Linked DNA regions of Homo sapiens: regions 2 and 3 are each linked to region 1. Evidence: promoter capture Hi-C in 16 types of primary human blood cells and fetal thymus (Javierre and others, 2016). All regions are on one chromosome and are shown on one strand. The core of a region is centred on a gene start or on the middle of the fragment in contact, and the rest is flanking DNA. Distances in the headings are between cores, read along the strand shown.

The links. The method cuts DNA at HindIII sites, captures the fragments that hold promoters and counts their contacts. A CHiCAGO score of 5 or more calls a contact.
Region 2: a contact is called between a fragment that was not itself captured here and the fragment with the promoter of HM13 in region 1, in 2 of 17 cell types (M2 macrophages and M0 macrophages). The highest score is 6.8, in M2 macrophages.
Region 3: a contact is called between a fragment that was not itself captured here and the fragment with the promoter of HM13 in region 1, in 1 of 17 cell types (non-activated CD4 T cells). The highest score is 5.0, in non-activated CD4 T cells.

What each region holds. Positions count from the first base shown.
Region 1 is chr20:31,512,923-31,516,370 of GRCh38, forward strand. HM13 (histocompatibility minor 13) reads left to right here and starts at 1,520. Exons shown (of 13, transcript NM_178581.3): 1 at 1,520-1,812. The coding sequence starts at 1,630. RefSeq lists a silencer at 2,117-2,186. The HindIII fragment of the contact is 3,704 bases long and covers 214-3,448 here.
Region 2 is chr20:31,696,158-31,700,077 of GRCh38, forward strand. The region is part of intron 2 of BCL2L1 (BCL2 like 1); the gene reads right to left. The region is part of intron 3 of BCL2L1-AS1 (BCL2L1 antisense RNA 1); the gene reads left to right. Among named protein-coding and RNA genes, the nearest start is that of BCL2L1-AS1, 23 kb to the left of the region's middle. RefSeq lists enhancers at 1,897-2,844, 3,228-3,277. The HindIII fragment of the contact is 1,887 bases long and covers 1,120-3,006 here.
Region 3 is chr20:31,745,533-31,749,290 of GRCh38, forward strand. All of the region lies in intron 2 of TPX2 (TPX2 microtubule nucleation factor), which reads left to right. Among named protein-coding and RNA genes, the nearest start is that of TPX2, 8.1 kb to the left of the region's middle. The HindIII fragment of the contact is 2,013 bases long and covers 618-2,630 here.

The DNA.
Region 1 (3,448 bases), core at 270-2,769:
CAGTAGGCTGCAAGCAGTGGCTCATACCTGTAATCCCAACACTTTAGGAGGCTGAGGCAGGAGGATCACTTGAACCTAGGAGTTTGAGACCAGCCTGGCCAACATGGCAAAACCCCATGTCTAAGAAAATATATATTTTTAACTTTTTTAACAATATCAAAAATAAGAATCACATAAATAAACAGATTCTTCAAATTCTGAAAAGAGCCACAAAGCTTTATAAATTGTACAGGGGCATGAACTCGTAAGGTATTATAATTGCCTGGCACATAGTAGGCTCTCAATACATTTGCAAACTCCACACACACCTTACTTTCTTTTGCTTTATTTTTCTCTATTTATCTGCATTAACATGCTATGTAACACATAACTATACATTAACGTTTTACAAATTACAAATTTTTCTTGTTTTTTTTTTTTTTTTTTTTGAGACAGAGTCTCACTCTGTCGCCCAGGCTGGAGTGCAGTGGGCTCACTGCAACCTCCGCCTCCCAGGTTCAAGCCAGTCTCCTGCCTCAGCCTCCCAAGTAGCTGGGATTGTAGGCGCCCGCCACCACGCCCGGCTAATTTTTTATATTTTTAGTACAGACGGGGTTTCACCGTGTTAGCCAGGATGGTCTCGATCTCCTGACCTCGCAATCTGCCCACCTCGGCCTCCCAAAGTGCTGGGATTACAGGCGTGAGCCACCGCGCCTGGCCTTTTTTTTTTTTTTTTTTTTTTTTTTTTTCAGACGGAGTTTCGCTCTTGTTGCCCAGGCTGGAGTGCAATGGCTCAGTCTTGGCTCACTGCAACCTCCGCCTCCCGGGTTCAGGCGATTCTCCTGCCTCAGCCTCCCGAGTAGCTGGGATTACAGGTGCGTGCCACCACGCCCGGCTAATTGTTTGTATTTTTAGTGCAGACGGGGTTTCACCATATTGGTCAGGCTGGTCTCGAACTCGTGACGTCAGGTGATCCACCCGCCTCGGCCTCCTAGAGTGCTGGGATTACAGGCGTGAGCCACTGCGCCCAGCCCATTTTACAGACTTTTATTTTGTTCAGTTTCTTTATTGTCTTCCCAACGTCCCCCCACACACACTGCACTAAAATGCAAACTTCACGAAGGCAAGGAGGAACTTTTGCCTGTATTGTTCACCTCAGTGTCCCCAGAGCCTAGGTCAGTTGTTGGCATATTGAGGGACATTCAATAAATATTTAAGGAGTGAATAAACAATTGGATACCCAATAAATGCATGTATGAATAAACACATTCTTAGTTATTCGGAATATGAGGATTTGCGGAGAGTGGACAGCAGGGGATTGAGGAGACCGGCTGGGACTGGGAAATGGGCATTCGGGTCGCATGCCCACCGCAGTGGCCCAGAGCCCCTGTCCGGACCGCTAACAAGTTGCTTAGCAACCCGCCGCCCGGCCCTCGGCCACCGCTAGAGGGCGAGCGGGCGGGGAGACGTGCACGCGCGCGCGCGTGCGTGCAAGCGTGTGTGCGCGCGTGCGCGGCGCGGGCTTGGGAGGGAGCACGTCACTTCCTGTTGCCTTAGGGGAACGTGGCTTTCCCTGCAGAGCCGGTGTCTCCGCCTGCGTCCCTGCTGCAGCAACCGGAGCTGGAGTCGGATCCCGAACGCACCCTCGCCATGGACTCGGCCCTCAGCGATCCGCATAACGGCAGTGCCGAGGCAGGCGGCCCCACCAACAGCACTACGCGGCCGCCTTCCACGCCCGAGGGCATCGCGCTGGCCTACGGCAGCCTCCTGCTCATGGCGCTGCTGCCCATCTTCTTCGGCGCCCTGCGCTCCGTACGCTGCGCCCGCGGCAAGGTAGGGTCAGCGGGAAAACCGGGCACTTTCCACCCCCATACCGAACACGGCCGACATGGACCCTTCCTAGGCGGGACAGACACCTCTCCCCGGACACTGACTCTTCCCAGCCCTGATCACCACCGTTCCCTCTGTCTCGGGCCCACATTCCGGGGCTGGCATTTCCTACCCCGGGATCTGGGCACCGACCCCCGACCAGGGTATGATACCTTCCCCAATAGGAACTTGCTTCTGCTCCCGACCCGGACCCTGACACTTCCCTCCCTGTGCATCATGCCGCGGCTGGGAACGCTGTCAGCCCGTCCCCCACTGCGACTCGGGCACTGATTGTTCTGAGCCTGTTGGGCCCAGGCAGATCAGCCCCATCATGTATACCTGATGGATACTGGTCCTCACAACTTACTGAATGGTACAATTTCGTGTCATTCCCTGTTAGGAACCCTGCCTCAGCCCACCGCAGGGCCCTTTCTACCATCCAGACCCATCCCTAGACTCTGACTCCTGTCTCACTGGAATCTATGGCACCTTATGTGCTCACCTAGATCCCCCACACCTGGCCCTTGCCCCTGCCTCAAAAACAATGATCTCTTAGAGCCCAGTTTTTCACATCACTTTCTGGAACCATCCCAGTCAGCTGGCTCCTCAGAAGCTGGCATCTTGGTGCCTCTACTTTCCAACTAGGCATGGACGTCTTATTTTCCTGGTTTCCTCTCTTAACTACCATCCAACCTTGGACATGGCCTAGTCAAAACCTAGACCTTGTTCCTAACCTGTAACCCTTTTCCCACCCAGCCTTTGACCCTATCTCAAAGTAGCCCTTCTCCCCATACCCCCAAGACAATCCCCCCACCAAACTGGGCCTGTCTGCTGGGCCACTGTTGGCCCCTCTTGTGAGACTGGGCCAGACTCCATCCCTGGCCTTCCTCAACATCTGTCCTATTGGATAACTAGGAGGACTCCAGCACATTTCACCTTCTGCTTCTCCCTCCCCCTTCCCTGCCCCACTTCTTCCCTATATTAAGCCCTTTCTAGCCCGTTGTACCAATGACTTTTCACTTCCTGGCACCCTCTCCCTTCCTCCACAACCTCTTAATCTGCACCTTCCCGATGCTCCTCCCCCACCCAGACCTGAGGATGGACCTAAGTGGAAGTCTTGCCCAAAGAGGGCAGGCCCACAAAGCAGCTGCCACTTTTGAAACTGCTGAAGCTGAGGTTCTCAAAACACTACCCAACTTGAGCAGTAGCTGAGGCCTGCCATCTTCCTTCCCCAGGAGCAGAGAACTCACTACTGGCTCTGTATGCGATCAGATGCAAAGGAAAGTAGTTAGGCGGGGCTTAGGCTGAGAGACTCAAACATGACTCCATTTTCCTTTTTATTTGGCTTTTTCTAAGCTGAGTTCAGGTGATATTAAGCCTCTCTACTATGCCTGTCAGGTAGACACTTAGTGTAGAGAGCAGTTCTGAGATAACCCAGGACAGAGGAGGCGAAGGACAGCTGGCATAAGGCTAGGCAGCTTGATCTGAGCTGCTCTCCAAACTGAGTAATTCTCCCTGGCACCTTCTGTACATGGATCACTAATCTCTGCAGAAAACACCTTCCAGGCAACAGTATTTCCTGAACTTCCACCACTGTCAG
Region 2 (3,920 bases), core at 813-3,312, 180 kb after region 1:
AGACTGTATGTCCAACCTTTAGCTCAGTCCCTGATATATGACAGGAATGCAATAAATACTTGTTAATGAACAAATGAATGAATGACCAATATCCCTCAGGAAATGACTCAGACTCAAAGGGGAGTAAGGCTGCCTGAGTGTCCTTGGCTTTCACAGCCCTGATGACCTTTGGTACCCCATGGCAGCGGTCAACGTCCTTCCCTATTATGAAATGTCCTGGGTGCATAGCATCACCACTGTGTCATCTACTTGTGCCTGCACCCATGCAAACACACAGGGACACAAAGCTGGAAAAGGGCTGGTTTTGAGAAGGAGTAAGCCTGGGCAGTTGAAACCCAGGTTCGGTGTACTCTAGGGCACTTACTTCTAGGTGACTGTCCTTGCCACTGCTGGCGTACCAAGGTCTCCCAGTCATATGCCCATGCACTGTATACATTTTGGCATTTATTCTCATGAATAAAGTGTCATTAGAGGCCAGACACTGCTGGCTAACGCCTGTAATCGCAGCACTTTGGGACGTCAAGGTGGGAGGACTGCTTGAGCCCAGGAGTTAGAGACCAGTCTGGACAACACAGTGAGACCTTGTCTCTACTAAAAATTTAAAAATAAGCTAGTCGGCCGGGTGTGGTGGCTCACACCTGTAATCCTAGCACTTTGGGAAGCCGAGGCGGGTGGATCATCTGAGGTCAGGAGTTCGAGACGAGCCTGGCCAACGTGGTCAAACTCTGTCTCTACCAAAAATACAAAAATTAGCTGGGCATGGTGGTGGGTGACTGTAATCCCAGCTACTCGGGAGGCTGAGGCAGGAGAATCACTTGAATCCAGGAGGCGGAGGCTGCAGTGAGCCGAGATCAAGCCACTCCAGCCTGGGCAACAGAGCAAGACTCTATCTCAAAAAAAAAAAAAAAAAAAAAATTAGCTAGGCATGATGGCATGTGCCTATATTTTAGCTTCACTATTTTCACATGTAAAATGGATGTCACAGGGCATATGGCTCCTTGGAATATTACATGAGATAACATATTTAAATCATTCAGCAGTATACTTAGCACCCATGGAGTGCTCAATGGATGGTAGCTCTGTAGATCAGCTCTCAATAGAGGGACAGGCCATTAGATAAGCTTGGGGAAGGCTTCCTGGAAAAGACTGGCTTGGTACTGGACTTTGGAGCCTGGATAGAATATACATGAATGTTGGCTGGAAGGAGCCTATTCAAATGGAAGAGGGAAGAGGACAGGCTTTGGATGCTGGCAGTTTGCTGTGTAATCTTTAACAGGTGACTTTCTTTTTTTTTTTTTTAGACGGAGTCTCGCTCTGTCACCCAGGCTGGAGTGCAGTGGCACGATCTTGACTCACTGCAACCTCCACCTCCCGGGTTCATGCCATTCTCCTGCCTTAGCCTCCCAAGTAGCTGGGACTGCAGGTGCCCGCCACCACGCCCGGCTAATTTTTTGTATTTTTAGTAGAGACGGGGTTTCACCGTGTTAGCCAGGATGGTCTCAAACTCCTGACCTCATGATCTGCCCACCTCATCCTCCCAAAGTGCTGGGATTACAGGCGTGAGCCACTGTGCCCGGCCTAACAGGTGACTTTACCTCTCAAAGTCTCAGTTTTCTTCTCTGTAGAATGTGGATACCACTAGAGCATACCTCATAAAACTGTTGGGAGGATTAATGAGGTGCTATACTGATAAGTGGAAACCACTGAACAGAATCCTCAGCATGTGCTGTTGCTGTTTTTTTTTTTTTGAGACGGAGTCTCGCTTTGTTGCCCAGGCTGGAGTGCAGTGGCACAATCTCAGCTCACTGCAATCTCCACCTCCCGGGCTCAAGCAGTTTTCCTGCCTCAGCCTCCTGAGTAACTGGGATGATAGGCACACGCCATCATGCCTGGCTAATTTTTGTATTTTTAGTAGAGATGGGGTTTCACCATGTTGGCCAGGCTAGTCTTAAACTTCTGACCTCAAGTGATCTGCCTGCCTCGGCCTCCCAAAGTGCTGGGATGACAGGCGTGAACCATCGTGCCCAGCCTGGTGATCCTTTAAAAATGTATGTCGGACTGTCATTTCTTGGTTCAAAACCCTCCAATGACTCTTTTTTCTGAGACAGGATTTTGCTCTGTCGCCCAGGTTGGAGTTCTGTGAGATGTGTTCATAGCTCACTGCAGCCATGAACTCCCAGGCTCAAGTGATCCTCCCACCTTAGCCTCCTGAGTAGCCAAGATTATTGGCATGTGCCACCATGCCTGACAAATTTTTTGTAGAGATGGAGGTCTCACTGTACTGCTCAGGCTGATGTTGAATTCCTGGGCTCAAGTGATCCTCCCACCTCAGACTCCCAAAGTTTTGGGATTACAGGCATGAGCTACTGGACCCAGTCGATTTTCCTTCTTTTTTTTTTTGGAGACGGTCTCGCTTTGTCACCTAGGCTGGGGTATAGTGGTGTGAACATGGCTCACTGCAACCTTGACCTCCTGGACTCAAGTGTTTCTCCCATCTCAGCCTCCCGAGTAGCTGGGAATACAGGTGCGAAACACCACACCCGGCTAATTTTTGTATTTTTTTGTAGAGACAGAGTTTCGCCATGTTGCCCAGGCTGGTCTCAAACTCCTAAGCTCAAGCAATCTGCCTGCCTCAGCCTCCTAAAGTGCTCAGATTACAGGCATGAGCCACCACACCTGCCCTTTTTTGCTTTTCAATTAGTGAGTCAAGGGGAGATCTCCAATATATCTCCAATAGTGTGGTGGCTGGTCTGCTCTGAAATGTAAGCAGTTTTTTTTTGTCCCCTTGACCAGACTCTAAAAGTCTTAAGGTCAAAAAGTCCACAAATAACGTTTTGTTTACCCATCCTACAGTGCTAGGCCTAAGCCTCGGACTTAGGCAAAGGAGATCAGAAGGGTCATATGGCTAAATGTAGGTGGACAAGAGGGAGTCGGGGAGGGCCTTCCTGTGAATCCTCCTGCCTCTCAAGGACGCTCTGTTCCCTTAGCTTGAGAAGCCTTGAGGAAAGCTTTTTCCATGAACAAGCTTTTAAAAACCTTTTAGCTCTTTAAAAGCAGCAAGTACCATTCCAGTCATGACCCTGCAGACAGGTGGAACACCCATACTCCAGCCTCATTCTGAAGAGACTTGCAGAGCAGGAAGGAAGGGGTAATGACTTTCAGTTCCAGTAATGTATCTAGAAGCAGCAGCTGATTCAGCTAGATGATGTCACCTTCCCAAACCTCCTGACCAGCAGCTGAGATGGTAAAAGCAGGAAACAGGGGATACTCAGCTGGCTAAGTCCGAACATGCCTCTGGCAAAGGCCTACAGTAACCCCAGGCTCTGGAGGCATCCTCCTGAAGATGAGGAGAAAGAGTCCTCTCAGCTGGGAGTACAGTAGGTGTCCTTCAAGACCCTCAAACCAAGATGCTTCTCCAACTCTCCTTTTGCTAAGCAGCTTTCTGCATATCCTGAACCAACAATCCTTCATTTATTCCAAGAGTGGAGCAGGGGAAAGAAGCCTGGCTTTAGAGCCAGCCCAATCTAGGTCCAAATCCAGGATTCACCACGTAAAGCTGCAGGACCCTGGCATGCAACTTCACTTATCCAAACCTTAGTTTCTTTACTGGAAAAGAAAGTAGGGCTAATGGACCATTTAGCACACAGTCTAGGTGAGGGAATTAAATGAGAAAATGCATGTAGAGTACCTGACATGGGCTAGGTGCTCAATAAATGGTAGTCAACCATTATCCCATTGGATCTCTGCAGAGGAGATTTGAAAGATCACCTCCATCTATAACACAAAAGGAAACAAAGGTACCAACTAGACCCAACAGTGTCAAAGCTGAGTAACTGAGTTGGCCCATGCATATAGTTGCTTCCTAGATATTCCATTACTCAGTTTCATTTTCTGTACAGCATTTAACCCAATCCCTGAAA
Region 3 (3,758 bases), core at 374-2,873, 230 kb after region 1:
GGCCAGGCTGGTCTTGAACTCCTGACCTCAGGTGATCCACCTGCCTTGGCCTCCCAGAGTGCTGGGATTACAGGCATGAGCCATCTAATAAACACTTTTATTAGGTTCTTGGGTTTGAGTGTTTGTGTGTTATTCCCCAAACCAGATACCTTTTGAAGGGAATAAATCTCTATAAAATGAAATGACTGCTATTTGACTAGGATTGTAATCTGCAGCCACACTGTCAACCATTACAAACTTTTTCAGCTTCATACTATTGGAATATCAGATTACTTTGGGTTTCTACTAAGATTTCCTTTTAGTATTTTACAAAGCTCTCTGTCATTATCTGTCCTAGTAGTAAACAGCATCATTGATTTCCATCTAGGTCCTATTAGTCATAGGTGGATTATGGTTTGTTGAGTTCTATGGATAAATTATAGCAAAACTGAGTTTGTAATCCTTAAAAAAGGGCAATATGAAACATACAAGTTTGGGAGAGAAATGATAGGAAATATATTTGCTTGAAGTTTCTGGACAGTGATGAATTAGAACAAGTGTCCATGTGTCCTGTGCTGACTTCTGAGTGTTGGACAGTGAGGGATTGTCATTGGATTTTAAATTGACCCAATTTTGGAAGCTTCATAGATCTGTTTCTGTAAACAGATCCAATTTCAACATAGAAGTTAGCAAACATAAATGTGGAAACACAAAGTCCATTAAACTTCCTTCAGACTTAGTTTGTGACTTTGATTAACAGTTAAAATTGCATGCTGGATTATGTTGCCATTTACTGACTGCTGCTAATCCCTTATATACAAGAAAAAAATGTAGGTGTTTTCTCTCTGGGTAAGATGAAAGTAACTCCACTCTATTTTACTTGTGGTAATGTAACAGGATCTCTTATCCCTTGTGAAAGTAGGAGAGGATGTCCCTGGAGAAATGGCACTGCCTGGGATGGGACCATCTTAACTAACTATACTTCTAATGAAGTCTTGTCTTACTCTGTTTATTCTATTATATTACCAGTTTAACTCATGACTTTCTCTTTAATAGAAATAGGCAAGTCATATCTCACTGACTGGATAGCAAGGTGTTTGAGAGCATCTGTCACACCAAAGTCTTTGTTTTGCTCAGGAGCTGGTAGTCCCCTATTTCACCCTGCTTAGAATGCACCCTCTTGCAGCTTTCCCCAACCCGGTCTGAACCTGCACCTTTTGATTTATAGAGCTTGTCAAGACTAGTTATTTTTGGTTTGAGAGTGAAGAAAGATGGGAGGCAATGGGAGGTTAATTTCAGATGAATGTGGGAACAGGTTACATTGCTTTGTCTGCAATCTTCCTAATTTGTATTTGTCTTCCCCTTCCATTTATCTCTTACCCTAGAAAAAGTCAACGTTCATTCTTAGCTTGTAGAACTCCGCAGGTCTGTCTGTATCTTTTAAGTATTTTTTACATCAGGAAACCATCTCTGATCCTCTTTTATGCTGTTCTCCTTCTCTGCACTTCCAGAGCGCTCTCTGTTAATGCCCTCTTGCAGCAAGGATAGCCCTATATTGTAATTGTTTGCATTCCCCCATTCAATTGTGCGTTCTTGGAGGGAAGAGATTTTTTTTTGTTGTTGTTGTTTGAGAAGGAGTCTCGCTCTGTCCCAGGCTGGAGTGCAGCGGTGCAATCTCGGCTCACTGCAGCCTCCACCTCCTGGGTTCAAGCTATTTTCCTGCCTCAGCCTCCCGAGTAGCTGGGATTAAAGGCACGTACCCACCACGCCCGCTAATTTTTGTATTTTTAGTAGAGACGGGTTTCACCATGTTGGCCTGGCTGATCTCGAACTCCTGACTTCGTGATCCGCCTGCCTTGGCCTCCCAAAGTACTGGGATTACAGGCATAAGTCACTGTGCCCGGCCGAGATTTTATATCTCTATCTCTGTCTGTCTGTCTGTCTGTCTGTCTATCTATCTATCTATCTATCGTTTTAGTCTTCGCTTTTTGGAAACAAAAATGGGCTATAAGACACGATGGATGGCATTGAATAGGCAGTTTTTAGAGGAACCTAATTGGTTCATAGCATACAGGATAGGCTTTTTCCTTGGGTCTTTGTAGGAATATTGGTCATTAATAGCTATTTTTCCATGCAGAATATTTCTAGTTTTGCAAGAATCTGAAGCTGTGGTAGATTCAGATAATTTTGAAATGTGAAGCTGATTCTCTTGCTTGGCAACTTGATTTGTTTGGGGGAATGTGGTTGACGCATGTGCCTTTTTTTTTTTTTTTTTTTTGGTGAGACCTGTTGACAGAAATTCAATCTTGATTAAGGGACGCAGGAAGGCATCCAGTTCCCACCATGCCTGGGGCTCTCTCATTTAAACAGCTGCCTTTGGCTCTGGCCTGTTCCATTTCCCACTAGGCCCTGTGGACTTTAATTTTGGAAGATTTCACATCCTCATATTTATTATTTCTGGGGGAGGTAGTGTCGTGAAACCGAAATTACCCAGTAGTTAGCTTTTCGTTTTCTTGATGTACTTGTCCTATCAGCCTTAATTGAAGAGAGTCAGACTTCTCAATGGATATGTATTTATTTATTCTCTTTTTCCAGGGAGAGGGGATGGTCTCCTGAGTTGGCCATTCTAGACCAAAATATAGCTTAAAAGAAGCTTTTTTAAAGAACAGGTCATGTTAGGAAAATAATATTTTGTTTTTAAAATTTCACCTAAAGATTAAGTGTACTTAGGTTTGCACCCCTCGCCGTTTGTTCCCCACTAATCAAATGTAGTCTTAGACCTCAGAGGACAGCCTTTCTTCTGCTGCTTGAACCCTCTTCATAGTCTCTTTACTCTAGAATATCACTGAGGTTTTCACTAACCACCATCTTATATAGAGGAAAAACTTCATATGGAAAAGTATACTTAAAAAAAGAGGAATCAATGGATTTTTTAAAAAATTTATGGGAAGATTCAGATCAGAGCTTTCCAAATATATTTATAACAGGATTTGTAATTTGCTAAAGTTTTCTTTATGAGCATATCAGGGATGCTTAGTTTTCATAAAGGGCAGGATTTGTCTTTGTTGAACAGGATCTTATGATTTGATTACCTACCTCCTTTTTGAAGCAATGTTTATAGGAAAACTTGTGCATTAGAGAGACCCCAGATTTTGGAATCCTGCAGACTTGTTCTTTTAAAACTCAACACTGCTATGTATTAGTTTGGTGATCTTGGAATAGTGTAACTTCTCTGAGCTTGTTTCCTTGTTTATAAAATGGTGATGGTAGCATTTATTTATAAAGACATCTATCTATTGTCTATATTGTTAATGCAGTTTAAACGAGATGATTTATGTGAAGTGTCTGGTAAGGTGCCTGGCCTACAGTAGACAGTATTTGGAAGTTATTATCTCTTGCTCCATGACATTTGTTATTTATCTATTTAAATGTGAATTTTTTTTTTTTTTTTTGAGACAGAGTCTTGCTTTGTTGCCCAGGCTGGAGTGCAGTGGCGCGATCTCGGCTCACTGCAACCTCCGCCTCCTGGGTTCACGCCATTCTCCTGCCTCAGCCTCCCGAGTAGCTGGGACTACAGGCATCCACCACCACGCCTGGCTAATTTTTTTGTATTTTTAGTAGAGACGGGGTTTCACTGTGTTAGCCAGGATGGTCTCAATCTCTTGACCTCATGATCCACCCGCCTCGGCCTCCCAAAGTGCTGGGATTACAGGCGTGAGCCACCGCGCCCAGCTTAAATGTCTATTTTTAAATAAATAGGCAGTGGATAAGAACACCAC